Regions from separate parts of the Homo sapiens genome. Here regions 1 and 2 are each linked to region 3. Evidence: promoter capture Hi-C in 16 types of primary human blood cells and fetal thymus (Javierre and others, 2016). All regions are on one chromosome and are shown on one strand. Each heading gives the region's core, a stretch centred on a gene start or on the middle of the fragment in contact. The rest is flanking DNA. Distances are from core to core; before and after follow the strand shown. Region 1 overlaps HMGN3 (high mobility group nucleosomal binding domain 3). Region 2 overlaps HMGN3 (high mobility group nucleosomal binding domain 3). Region 3 holds the start of SH3BGRL2 (SH3 domain binding glutamate rich protein like 2).

What was found. Contacts are between HindIII fragments. The CHiCAGO score rates a contact against its expected background, and 5 or more counts as called.
Region 1: a fragment that was not itself captured here is called in contact with the fragment with the promoter of SH3BGRL2 in region 3 in 1 of 17 cell types (megakaryocytes); the score reaches 5.1 in megakaryocytes.
Region 2: a fragment that was not itself captured here is called in contact with the fragment with the promoter of SH3BGRL2 in region 3 in 1 of 17 cell types (megakaryocytes); the score reaches 7.0 in megakaryocytes.

The regions. Positions count from the first base shown.
Region 1 is chr6:79,203,262-79,206,991 of GRCh38, reverse strand. HMGN3 (high mobility group nucleosomal binding domain 3) reads left to right here. Exons shown (of 7, transcript NM_001201363.2): 4 at 3,362-3,412. Among named protein-coding and RNA genes, the nearest start is that of HMGN3-AS1, 29 kb to the left of the region's middle. RefSeq lists enhancers at 1-428, 429-930. The HindIII fragment of the contact is 761 bases long and covers 2,085-2,845 here.
Region 2 is chr6:79,223,433-79,227,176 of GRCh38, reverse strand. The region is part of intron 1 of HMGN3 (high mobility group nucleosomal binding domain 3); the gene reads left to right. Among named protein-coding and RNA genes, the nearest start is that of HMGN3-AS1, 8.4 kb to the left of the region's middle. The HindIII fragment of the contact is 373 bases long and covers 1,728-2,100 here.
Region 3 is chr6:79,629,395-79,632,877 of GRCh38, reverse strand. SH3BGRL2 (SH3 domain binding glutamate rich protein like 2) reads right to left here and starts at 1,549. Exons shown (of 4, transcript NM_031469.4): 1 at 1,372-1,549. The coding sequence starts at 1,416. The HindIII fragment of the contact is 2,885 bases long and covers 1-1,850 here.

The DNA.
Region 1 (3,730 bases), core at 1,216-3,715, 430 kb after region 3:
AACATAGGGGCTACAGGCCTCATGCAAGTCCGAAATCCAGCAGAGCAGTCAAATCTTAAAGCTCCAAAATGATCTTTGACTCCTTTTCTTGCATCCAGGTCACGCTGATGCAGGACGTGGGTTTCCATGGTCTTGGGTAACTCCGCCCCTGTGGCTTTTCAGGATACAGCTTCCCTCCTGGCTGCTTTCACAGGCTGGCATTGAATGGCTGCAGCTTTTCCAGGCACACGGTGCAAACTGACAGTGAATCTACCATTCTGGGGTCTGGAGGGCAGTGGCCCTCTTCTCACAGCTCCACTAGGCAGTTCCCCAGTAGGGACTCTGTGTGAGGGCTTCAACCCCACATTGCCCTTCTGCACTGCCCTAGCAGAGGTTATCCATGAGGACCCTGCCTCTGCAACAACGTCTGCCTGGGCATCCAGTTGTTTCCATACGTCTTCTGAAATCTACGCAGAGGTTCCCAAACCTCATTTCTTCACTTCTGCACACTCGCAGGCTCAACACCACATGGAAGCTGCCAAAGCTTGGGGCTTCCACACACTGAAGCAATAGCCCCTGTACCTTAGCCCCTTTTAGTCACAGCTGGAGCGGCTGGGAGACAGGGCACCAAGTCCCTAGACTGCACAGAGCAGAGGGACCCTGGGTCAGGCCCACGAAGCCATTTTTTCCTCCTAAACTCTGGGCCTGTAATGGGAGAGGCTGCTGCAAAGGTCTGTCACGTGCCCTGGAGACATTTTTCCCATTGTCTTGTGCATAACATTTGGCTCCTCATTACTCATGCAAATTTCTGCAGCCGGATTGAATTTCTCCTCAGCTCAGAAAATGGGATTTTCTTTTCTTTCGCATTGCCAGGCTGCAAATTTTCTAAACTTTTCTGCTCTGTTTCCCTTTTAAAACTGATTGCCTTTAACAGCACCCAAGTCACCTCTTGAATGCTTTTCTGCTTTGAAATTTTTTCCACCAGATACCCTAAATCATCTCTCTCAAATTCAAAGTTCCACAAATCTCTAGACCAGGGGCAAAATGTTGCCAGTCTCTTTGCTAAAACGTAACAAGAGTCACCTTTGCTCCAGTTCTTAACAAGTTCCTCATCTCTATCTGAGACCACCTCTGCCTGGATTTCATTGTCAATATCATTATAAGCATTTTAGTTAAAGCCATTCAACAAATCTTTAGGAAAGGTCACAGTCATTCAGCAAGTCTCTAGGAAGTTCCAAACTTTCCCACATTTTCTTGTCTTCTTCTGAGCGCTCCAAACTGTTCCAACCTCTGTCTGTTACCCAGTTCTAAAGTCACTTCCACATTTTCATTATCTTTCAGCAGTGCCCCACTCTTCTGGTACCAATTTACTGTATTAGTCCATTTTCACGCTGCTGATAAAGACATACCCAAGACTGGACAATTTACAAAAGAAAAAGGTTTAATTGGACTTACAGTTCCATGTGGCTGGGGAAGGCTCACAATCATGGAGAAAGACAAAAGGAGCAAATTATGTCTTACGTGGATGGTGGCAGGCAAAGAGAGAGAGCGCTTGTGCGGGGAAACTCCTGTTATTAAAACCATCAGATCTCATGAGACTCATTCACTAATCATGAGAACAGTGCAGGAAAGACCCACCCCCATAATTCAATCACCTCCCACTGGGTTCCTCACATGACACATGGGAGTTGTAGGAGTTACAATTCAAGATGAGATTTGAGTGGGGACACAGCTAAACCATATTAGGAAGAGGTGTCAGTCACTAGGAGGACTTAAGAGCTGGGGTTGCTGTTGTGAATCTCCAGGCAGTTAAGGGAACAGACCTTGTAAGTCAAATGAAAACCAAAGTTTAAAACAAAGCTTTTCCTGAGCACCAGAAACCAGCAATATAAGCACCTTCCACTGAGATCATTCCCTGTGCTACCGAAACAGAGCCTCCTCAGAGGCCAGCAGGATTACAGACTACAAAACCTCATTTCCTGGTCCTATCAAAACACTTGAATGCTGGGTCAGAGGGAAAGGTCTGTCCTACAGAAAATAATATAAAAGGAAATTGTTTACTGTAAATGGAGAAAACATGTATATTAATACAGTATATCAAAGCTTAGGATGACAAAATGTTTTAAATTCTGAAAATGTAAGAGCCATGAAAGCTGCTGTATTTGGCCTGCAGATTTAGGGTGATAAGAAGATTAATAAAAACATTTCTTAACTTTTCAAGCTCGATTTTCTTTTTTTATTTGAAAGGTCATTTCTAACAGCCAATCTTCTGAAATCAAACTGTCTACAATTTCACTTTATGCCCTTGATGAAAAGGGGCAGATTCAGTGTGAACGTGAATTACCTAGAGGCACTAGGGAGGAACATGTATTTTTCTCCATAGGGGGAGACCCTGGCCAGTGTTTTCTATTTTAAAACCATTCTTCTAGTGCCAGGAGAGATGTACACTTTTTTCTAGTTCTATGAGAGAAATATTTGCCCTAAAATATCCACAGAAAACTCCTGGTGTAAAATGGTTATCTTTCCCCAGTTATCCGCATGTGCCACCTGGTCTCAGGCCCCTGGGAAGCTGGCCAGGGCTGAAGCATTGTGTGGCAGAGGGTCCATGGTCACACGGTGTGCAGGTGCTGCTCATGGGAACTGGAGGAGGACCACATGAGGCAAGAGAAAAATAGTTTCCTAGGGGACTGTTTGGCTAATAATATCTGTGAAAAATTTAAACTTTGGGAGCTAACAGTAGACATTTTATCATTATAATGATGTTCTCAATAAAAACCTTTAGACACAAATGAGCCCAGCATATCTGGTTAGACAAGAGATTCTCACCTTGAGCTGGCATTGGGGAGAATAAAAGTAGGAAGAAGCTTGGCAACAGAACTCGAAATCTACATTAGAAGTGGAAGGATTTGGAAGTGATTTTGAAATACTTCACAGGCAGCAGTCTTCATTACCAGTTGGGCTTTGCTAGTGATTGTGCTGTGATTTCTAGACTGTTAGGAAGGCCAGTGCAACTGAATTCATTGAGTCCTTTGGCCATGGGCCTGAGTCATTCCTCTTGCTGCTGTGCTGTGATAAAAGGAAGAGCAGACACATTGGAGATAGAAGCTTAGACCTGTTCCCGGAGAGCTATTCTGGACCAGGGAATAAGGAGTCGGCTTTTCAATCTCACCTGCAGTTCCCTTGTGAACCCAGGGTGAAAATAGTTATGAAATGCAGAGATCTTTATGCTGTTACCTGGTGCTGAAAATAGGATGAAATACTTTTTAATGACCAAAGCCATGTCAAAATGGATAGTTGTCTTTGTTAGTCCTTTTGTGTTTCTTTTGGTGCTGATAGTTTTTTTTTTTTTTCAGTATTTGTGTAATTTAAATTATCTTTGCAGAAACCTGCTCCACCAAAACCTGAACCCAAACCAAGAAAAACATCTGCTAAGGTAAGAAGTGCTGTTTCCCACTTTTGGCTTTTTAAACAATGAATAAATTATAATTCCCTACCTCAGAATCATTCAAAGAAAGGCCGTATTTAATGATCCAAACTGAAACCATTACCACTGTTACGGGCTTGCTTAAAGGCATAAAGCACAGTTTTCTGCGTTAATAGGAGTGTGTTTTCCATTTGGTCAGTGAGGCACGGGAAGTCAGAGATGTTGCTCTGAGAAGCCTCATGTCCGAAGGGGGTTTGGCAGCAGCCTCGTGAACATGCGGTTCATGCGGCACACAGCGGGGATGAGTTTGGGCCCTGGCAGCACTGC
Region 2 (3,744 bases), core at 665-3,164, 410 kb after region 3:
TAAAACATTGCTTTTGTTTACACCAGAGTTAAATATATTCCACTTTCCTGCAGGGTACAATTTGGAAATGGTGACTGAAATAAACACCATTTAAGCTGTCTGCCTTCATAGTACCTAGAGTGTTGAAATATGATGTTAGTCTCCTGAGTAATTTAAAAATCACTGTCGAAGTTAACAAACTAAATCAAAATGTTGAATTCCTTTTCACTGGTTACTTACTTATTGTACATTTCACTGTCTTCTTAGAAGAATTCAGTCAAATCACGTAGGGGTTCTTGGTCAAGCTATTTATTGAATCCAGTATTCTTCTACCCTGTGGGCATATCCAGAAACAGGGCTATTGAGATATGCCCAAGGCAAATACATATTCAGTCACACATAAAGTAAATGATATGCACATTCAGAAGTAGGAAGATAGAAAAATGGTTTTAAACTTCGAAATTGGCTCCAAAATTTAATATTTTAAGAGAAATGTCAGTAATTAACACAAATATACTTACTACTATTAAAATTGAATTAATATCAAAATCGAGCTATTTCCTGAATGCCTGGGTGTACCAGACCTGAGATACGTGTTTTGTATTCATAATGCACCTTAGTTTAAATAAAAATGTGAAATTATTAGAAATAAATGCGAGAGAAGTATATACTATAATTTCATTTTTCATTTTATTCTCACAACAGTTTAATGAAGCAATTTCATCTCACAGCTAAGAAAGAGGTCTCTTTCTATGAGTCAGACTGTTTTTAGCACTTTGCATTAATAATATTAATTCTTCCAACCACCCAGTAAGGTGTGTCCGTTTCCCGTTCTCATTTTACATATGAGAAAATTGAAGCACCAAGAGGTTAACAGACTTCCCCACAGCACCTGTGATAAGGAATGGCTGAGTTGGGATTTCACTCCTGAAGTCTGGCTGCAGAGCCTGTGATCTTAACCAGTGAACCCTGCAGCCTTTCTCAAACACAGAGGAAAATATTGGGATTTAGTGAGATTAACAAATTTCCTCTGGGTCACACAGCTAGGAAGTGATAGAACCAGCATTCTAACCAAGCCCTCTTTTACTCAGGAATTTTGCTGTTAACTATTACACCATAATACTTTCTGTATATGTTTATTTCTAATAACCACATGTATTTTTATTTTAACTACAGTGCCTAATGAATGAAACATGGAGGAATCAAGAGTTACGTAAACATGAGTGTTCATTTGTTTAAAATATCTTTATTACAATATAGGCTGGTGCCATGGTTTCTAAATGCCTGTTGTAGAAAGTTACCCAACAAGTCATTATTATTTGTGATCCTGCCCTAAGGCTGGCCTCAGGGTGCAGTTCTGTTCTTGGTAAGAGAGGAGCATTACCATGAAATCTTCTAGGTATTTCAGTAACTAGTGGACTGTAGGGTTGTAGACAAGATACACATATGCAGTTTCCTCACCTAAATATTGATTGTTTAGAGTATTAAAAGTCTGACTCTTTATAATTTTCTCAGATTCCACTGTGAACTGCTGGATTTGCTACTTCCATGATACATTGTCTTCATCAATTTGCTATATATAGAATAATGGGAATACTCCCTTGTGAACAGGAACATGTAAATACGCTTGCATATTATACAATATATTGAGGGATTTTAATGTAAATATTAAGCTGTCATTACTTAGGGACTGGGTTTAAAAAATAAGTAGATGCTTTTGTTTTTGGAACTCGTGAAGAATAAAAGCTTAATAGCTAGGAAAATCCACTGGACCTAGGACTGGATGGATTTTTATTTAGGTGTGCTAGATTACCAGTTGACTAATGTTTTATTTCAGATGTTATTTTTTAAATGTACAAGTGATATTTTAAAATTATATTTTGATTATTTTGACCCCATACAATGAAATACAAAATCTACCCTGAGAGGTATTGGTTTTCTTATTTCTTTTACTTTTTGCTCACTCTTTGTCTCTTTCTTAGGTGGAAACTGTGGGATGTTTTTATAATATTGGACAGAATTAGTTAAGTTCTATATTGTAGAAATTCATGGTATGAAAAGTAAGGCATGATGTATATGGGAGAAAACGTACCAAAGACGAAGTTATCAAAATGTGAAGCTTTAAAGGCTCCTTAAGTTCCATATGTATTTTATTTAATACATTTTTTAACAAACTATATTCTGACTACTTCTCATTGCTTTACTTTACCCCTTAATTACAATTTTTAATTTTATTTGTCCTAAGCAACCATATGTAGATCACATTACAGCCAGCTGATTAGTTTTGCAAAAATACAAGGAACATCATAACTGTGTTTACCATTTGCCAGAAGTTAATGTATGTCCGAGCAAACAGGAAAATAATAAAGTAACCATCTGGTAACATCTCTTTTAAGAGCCCTGTTATAACAATACAGAGACTTTGGTCTAGTGTGAATTCTGCCACTTTTTACCTCGGGAAGGTCACTTGACGTCTTGGAAGCTCTACTCTTCATCTGTACAATGGAAATATTAAGACTGTGCCCCTGTTTATCTCAGAAATATTGAAAGCATCAAATGCAACAACCATATGGAAGCACACTGAACATGTAAAGTACTACAAAAAATTATAGATGATTTGGTGTATGTTTTTGGTTTCAATACTGAGATAAAAACAACCAGATCCGTGCGTATGACTTTTTAAAAACCCAGAATAATACTAAAATTTTGTTCAACTCAACATAAACTATTTTTAATAGGTTATTGTTTGTTATTATTTCAAGAGGCTCATGAATGATGGAGAATAGGAAGCACTCCTTTACATATCATTTGTTCTTTGGCTAGGGCTACAGGTTAAAGCATTTCCCAAGCTGGAAGGCTTTTGCTCTTCTAGAATCCCAGATCTGCACCCAGTTTTGAAATTAAGAACACTTAACACAAACCACTTTGAATGGTGTAGTGGATAAGAGTATGAACTTTGAGCCAGCCTAGAAGAGCTGAATTCCAGCTCTTCTGTTAATACTTACCAGCAAGATTACCAGCTGACTAATCTTGGGCAAGTTATTCAACCTCTCTGGCCACAATTCCTAGTTAATAAAATGGATATAATCATGTTTTACCAACCTCATAAGATTGCGGTGAAGATTAAATCATTTCAATCATTGCCTTGCACATAATTGCAGTACACATCTTCATTATTCTGCTGTGCTCCTTTTCCTTTGCTTTCCTGATACCCCAGTGCTTGGCATTCCCATGATGTACACATGGCACTTCTATAGTGTGATAAATAAGTACACAAGTAGCTAAGTTAGTCAGGTGAGTGAGATCTTAAGGTCCATCTTAACTAGTTTTACTGGTGAAGAAACTCAAGTCTAGAGAAGTCAGGTGTGAGCCAGACTGGAATTCAGGCTTCTGATTGAGCCACGTGCTTTCTGCATGGCCATGTTTGTACAAAACCACAGCACATAAAAAAAAAAAAAGGTAACTCTAGTGAAAGGGACAGCTCAGACCAAAGAGGTTTAAAATATTTAAACTTCTTTCTTTTTTTGAGACAAGACAGGCTAGAGTGCAGTGCAGCCTCCACCTCCCAGGGTCAAGCGATTCCCACACTTCAGCCTCCCAAGTATCTGGGATTACAGGCATGTGCCACCATGCCCAGCTAATTGTTTTTTGTGGGTGTTTGTTTGTGTGTGTGTTTGTTTGTTTGTTGAGATAGAGTCTCGCTCTGTCACCCAGGCTGGAATGCAGTGGCGCGATCTCGGCTCACTGCAACCTCTGCCTCCCAGG
Region 3 (3,483 bases), core at 300-2,799:
CTTAGTAAGGAGTGCATTTGAACAAATCTACCCTTGAAACAGTGCCAGTTTGCAAACACATGAAGTGTGGCTTCAGTGGGGAAATCTACAAAAGGCAGGCATGACTAAGCAACCCAAATAGCTAGAAACACCAGAAACTGTCAGAAGTCTGAGGACCCCAACATGACTGCACATAAGTGTAAGTTGGATTTTCCCATCTATTGTTTCTAGTGCAAATGGGGGTGGAGGGGCTTTGTATGATCGTGTTGGTTTCTTTTTAAATAAAAAACTTCAGTGGTGTACAAGGATTTTCAAACAATATTTTATTCCATCCTCCACTCCACCCACTTAAGAAACAAATTTTGGAACAATCTGACTGAGCTACTGGGCAGACAATTGACCAGACCAAATTTAAGCAATCTACAATGCACTTTTTGATGTTACTTGATTATATATGTCACAAAGGAGGCTCTTAAATCTATAGCTGAACTCTTGGTTAAGGAAACCAAGTCTCAATAATCATGTAAAACACATGTGCTATGTCCCTTAGTGGGCTGTCAAATATACTAACTACTGAATTTTCCTTAAATTCTGACATCTCTAGCTATTTAACTTTCCTTTCTTTAAAAAAATTTTTTTTCTCTAAAAAAATTCAAGAACATCCACCAAAGAGAATAGCTAAAAATAATTAAATAGAAAACCACAATTCATAGATCCCCAGGATAAAATTTCCACAGCATTACAGGTGGAAAGAAAATGCGTGCATACACACACATTTACATAAAGATGTAAAAATATTTATGGCACCCTAAGAAAAAAAATGACAGTGAAAGCAAACAATCCTACCACAACAGGACAAACCTAGTTTTACTATTCTCTTTGCGCAGGTATAAAACTAAACAAATGCACTTGCTGGCGGGGAAGGGAGGACAGAGAGCAATTCCCACTTAAACTTGCTTCATTCAGGAGCTAGGGTAACAAACCAAAGCAGCAGAAAAGGCTCCCGTGCAAAACATAACCAGTCTGAAGGTCCCAAATCGGGAAGAACTAAACTAGGGGAAGGGGGATCCCCGAAGCTCTTGAACAACCCGTTCCCCAAATTTCCATGCCACACAACAGGAGCTGGGGGCTTCCCTCGGACTCCATTTTCAGGCCGCGTTGTCTGCCTTTCAGGCCACGCAGGGTGGGCATTTGGGTGAGGCCGGGGTCCCCCACCCACCTTTCCTCCCCGCCCTCTTCATTGTTGTCGGAGTGTGATGGATCACCTGCCGGGCGCGGGCTCCCGCGGGCGGACCGGCTGAGCGCAAGGACGCGCAGTGACGAGCGCCGCGCGCCTCCCGCAGGACCCGCGCCCCGCGACCCCAACCTACTGCCCGCCCCCACCGCGCTCACCGCCACGAAGCCCGAGGAAGAGGCGATGAACACGCGGATGACCATCCTCTCGCTGCGCCCGGGACAGACCCCTTGCCCCCCGGGCTCCGGGCTGGCGTGGACGCAGAGCTGAACCCAGCTACGAGCCGCCGGCAGCCTCTGGGTAAAGCGCTGCCGTCGGGGAAGATCGCTGGGATCTGGCTCCCTCCCGGCGGGTCCGCAGATAAAAGCCCAGCGCCGCCCGGCCGCAGGCTGAAGGGGAAGGAGAGGGAGGAGGAGGGAGCCGGCTGCGGGGCTTGATGGGATTTGTAGTTTCCGTCTCTCCCTGGAGTGGCTGGTGGACTGAGCTCCCCTCCTGACCGCGCTTCTATCCCGAACACGCGCAGGTGGCTGGAGGGGAGCCACAGCCCGGGCAGAAGCTGTGAGGTGGGTTGGCAAGGATCCTGGCTTGATGAGGAAAAAGCAAACTAGGCAAAAGGGCTCGGTTCAAAGTCCAAGCTTGGGTTCTGTATTGTGGTTTATTGGTTTGGAGCATCCACACCCAGAAATGCCAACAGACACGATCGTGCTGCGGGCACACATCGTCTCAGGGCCGCTGGCGTACCGGGCAAACCCCAGCTACCTGAAGCAGGCGGGATCGGCGAGCCGGGTGCTTGGGAGGTGTGGGCGGTGGGGTTGGGCTCGTTTGTTTGTCCAGTAGCACTGGAGATTGCAGAAAGGTGATTCTTTTGGGTAAATGAGAGGTCTTCTCTTGTCTGTACACACTGAAAATTAGAAACCCAGATGGAAGCACAACCAATATTTTATTTTTCTCAGCAAAACTGTAATTGTAGTAGAAAAAAATAAATACCAAACGAAATTGGAATCCTTCTATCAACATTGGAAATCAGGACCCTACCTGCCCCACCCCTCCCTACACAATGGCTTCGCCTCTGTGCACCTAATATTTACAGTTCAGCCAAATCTGTGCCTTTTTCAGAACCGCTGCACATTCCAGCGCAGTTTCCCAGGAGGATGCTGTTAAATAAAAAGCTTCTATATAGTTGCTAATAGTTTAGGAATAGTTTTTTATCAAGTGCTTTCTGTTTGACAAAAGCTCAAGCCTCTCTCTCAGTTTTGTCGAAAGGAACCAGTTTTCCCTGCTGTACTGTATTTACTTTTTTCCTTTCAACACGGGAGTTTAGCAGAGGTCTGGGAACAATGTTAATTAAGAAAAAGTAAGAAATTAGATGATGAGGTCTCTGGCTCTTTGATACATTTCTTGCACAAAGAGCAATCATTATGAAGTATTTTTTAGAACAGTTATGAATATTTCAAATTTATAACCTTTCCTATTGCTTTTCTTAAAGCCATTTCTGTAGTAGGAATCTTTTTAAATTTCCTTCAATAATAGAAGAGACACTCCTAATGGGACTTTATTTCTTCTTCGTGTTTAAAATTTTAAATAGAAGTTTTGCTGTCTTTAGTATCTCTCGGCAAATGTACTTTAATTTTGCTACCATAAATGTGGAAATGCACGTTTATAAAATAGAAAATAATTTTCTTAAAAGTAGATACCGTATTTCCTATATAAATGCAAATCTTTATAAAAGTCAGCATTTTCTTCAGTTTGGAATTATTCAGCTATGAAGATATAGTTAAACTCAAATAATTGGAACTCAGAGCCTACTCTGTGAAAGGTACAAGAATGGATAAAAAGTTGAACGAGTCATTTCTCTGTCAGCAGAGCACCTATTGTCTAGGAAAGAAAAAGACAGATACAGAAATAGTGACAGAACAAGACACACTGTACTAATACAGTGTTGTGTGGATGTAAAGGAAAAAGGTGGCCATAGAAGGTACTTTAAAGATGAGTAGAATTTCTGTCTGCAGATAGGGAGGATGCAGGGTGAGACTATTCAGGGTGTGTGAGGAGAACAGCAAGGAGTTGGTTTTGCTTCAGAAAGGAATATGAGGGAACTAGTAGAGGACAATGCTGAAAAAGTAGGTTTGAATGAATGCCAACAAAGGACTTTCTCACTGGGTTATCTGCTCAGCTCCTTGGGATTTCTGCTCCTTTCCTCTGATCCTAGAGGTTGTAAGGGTCCCCCAAGCCCTGTACATACAGCAGGGCCTAACCCTCTGACCACAGCT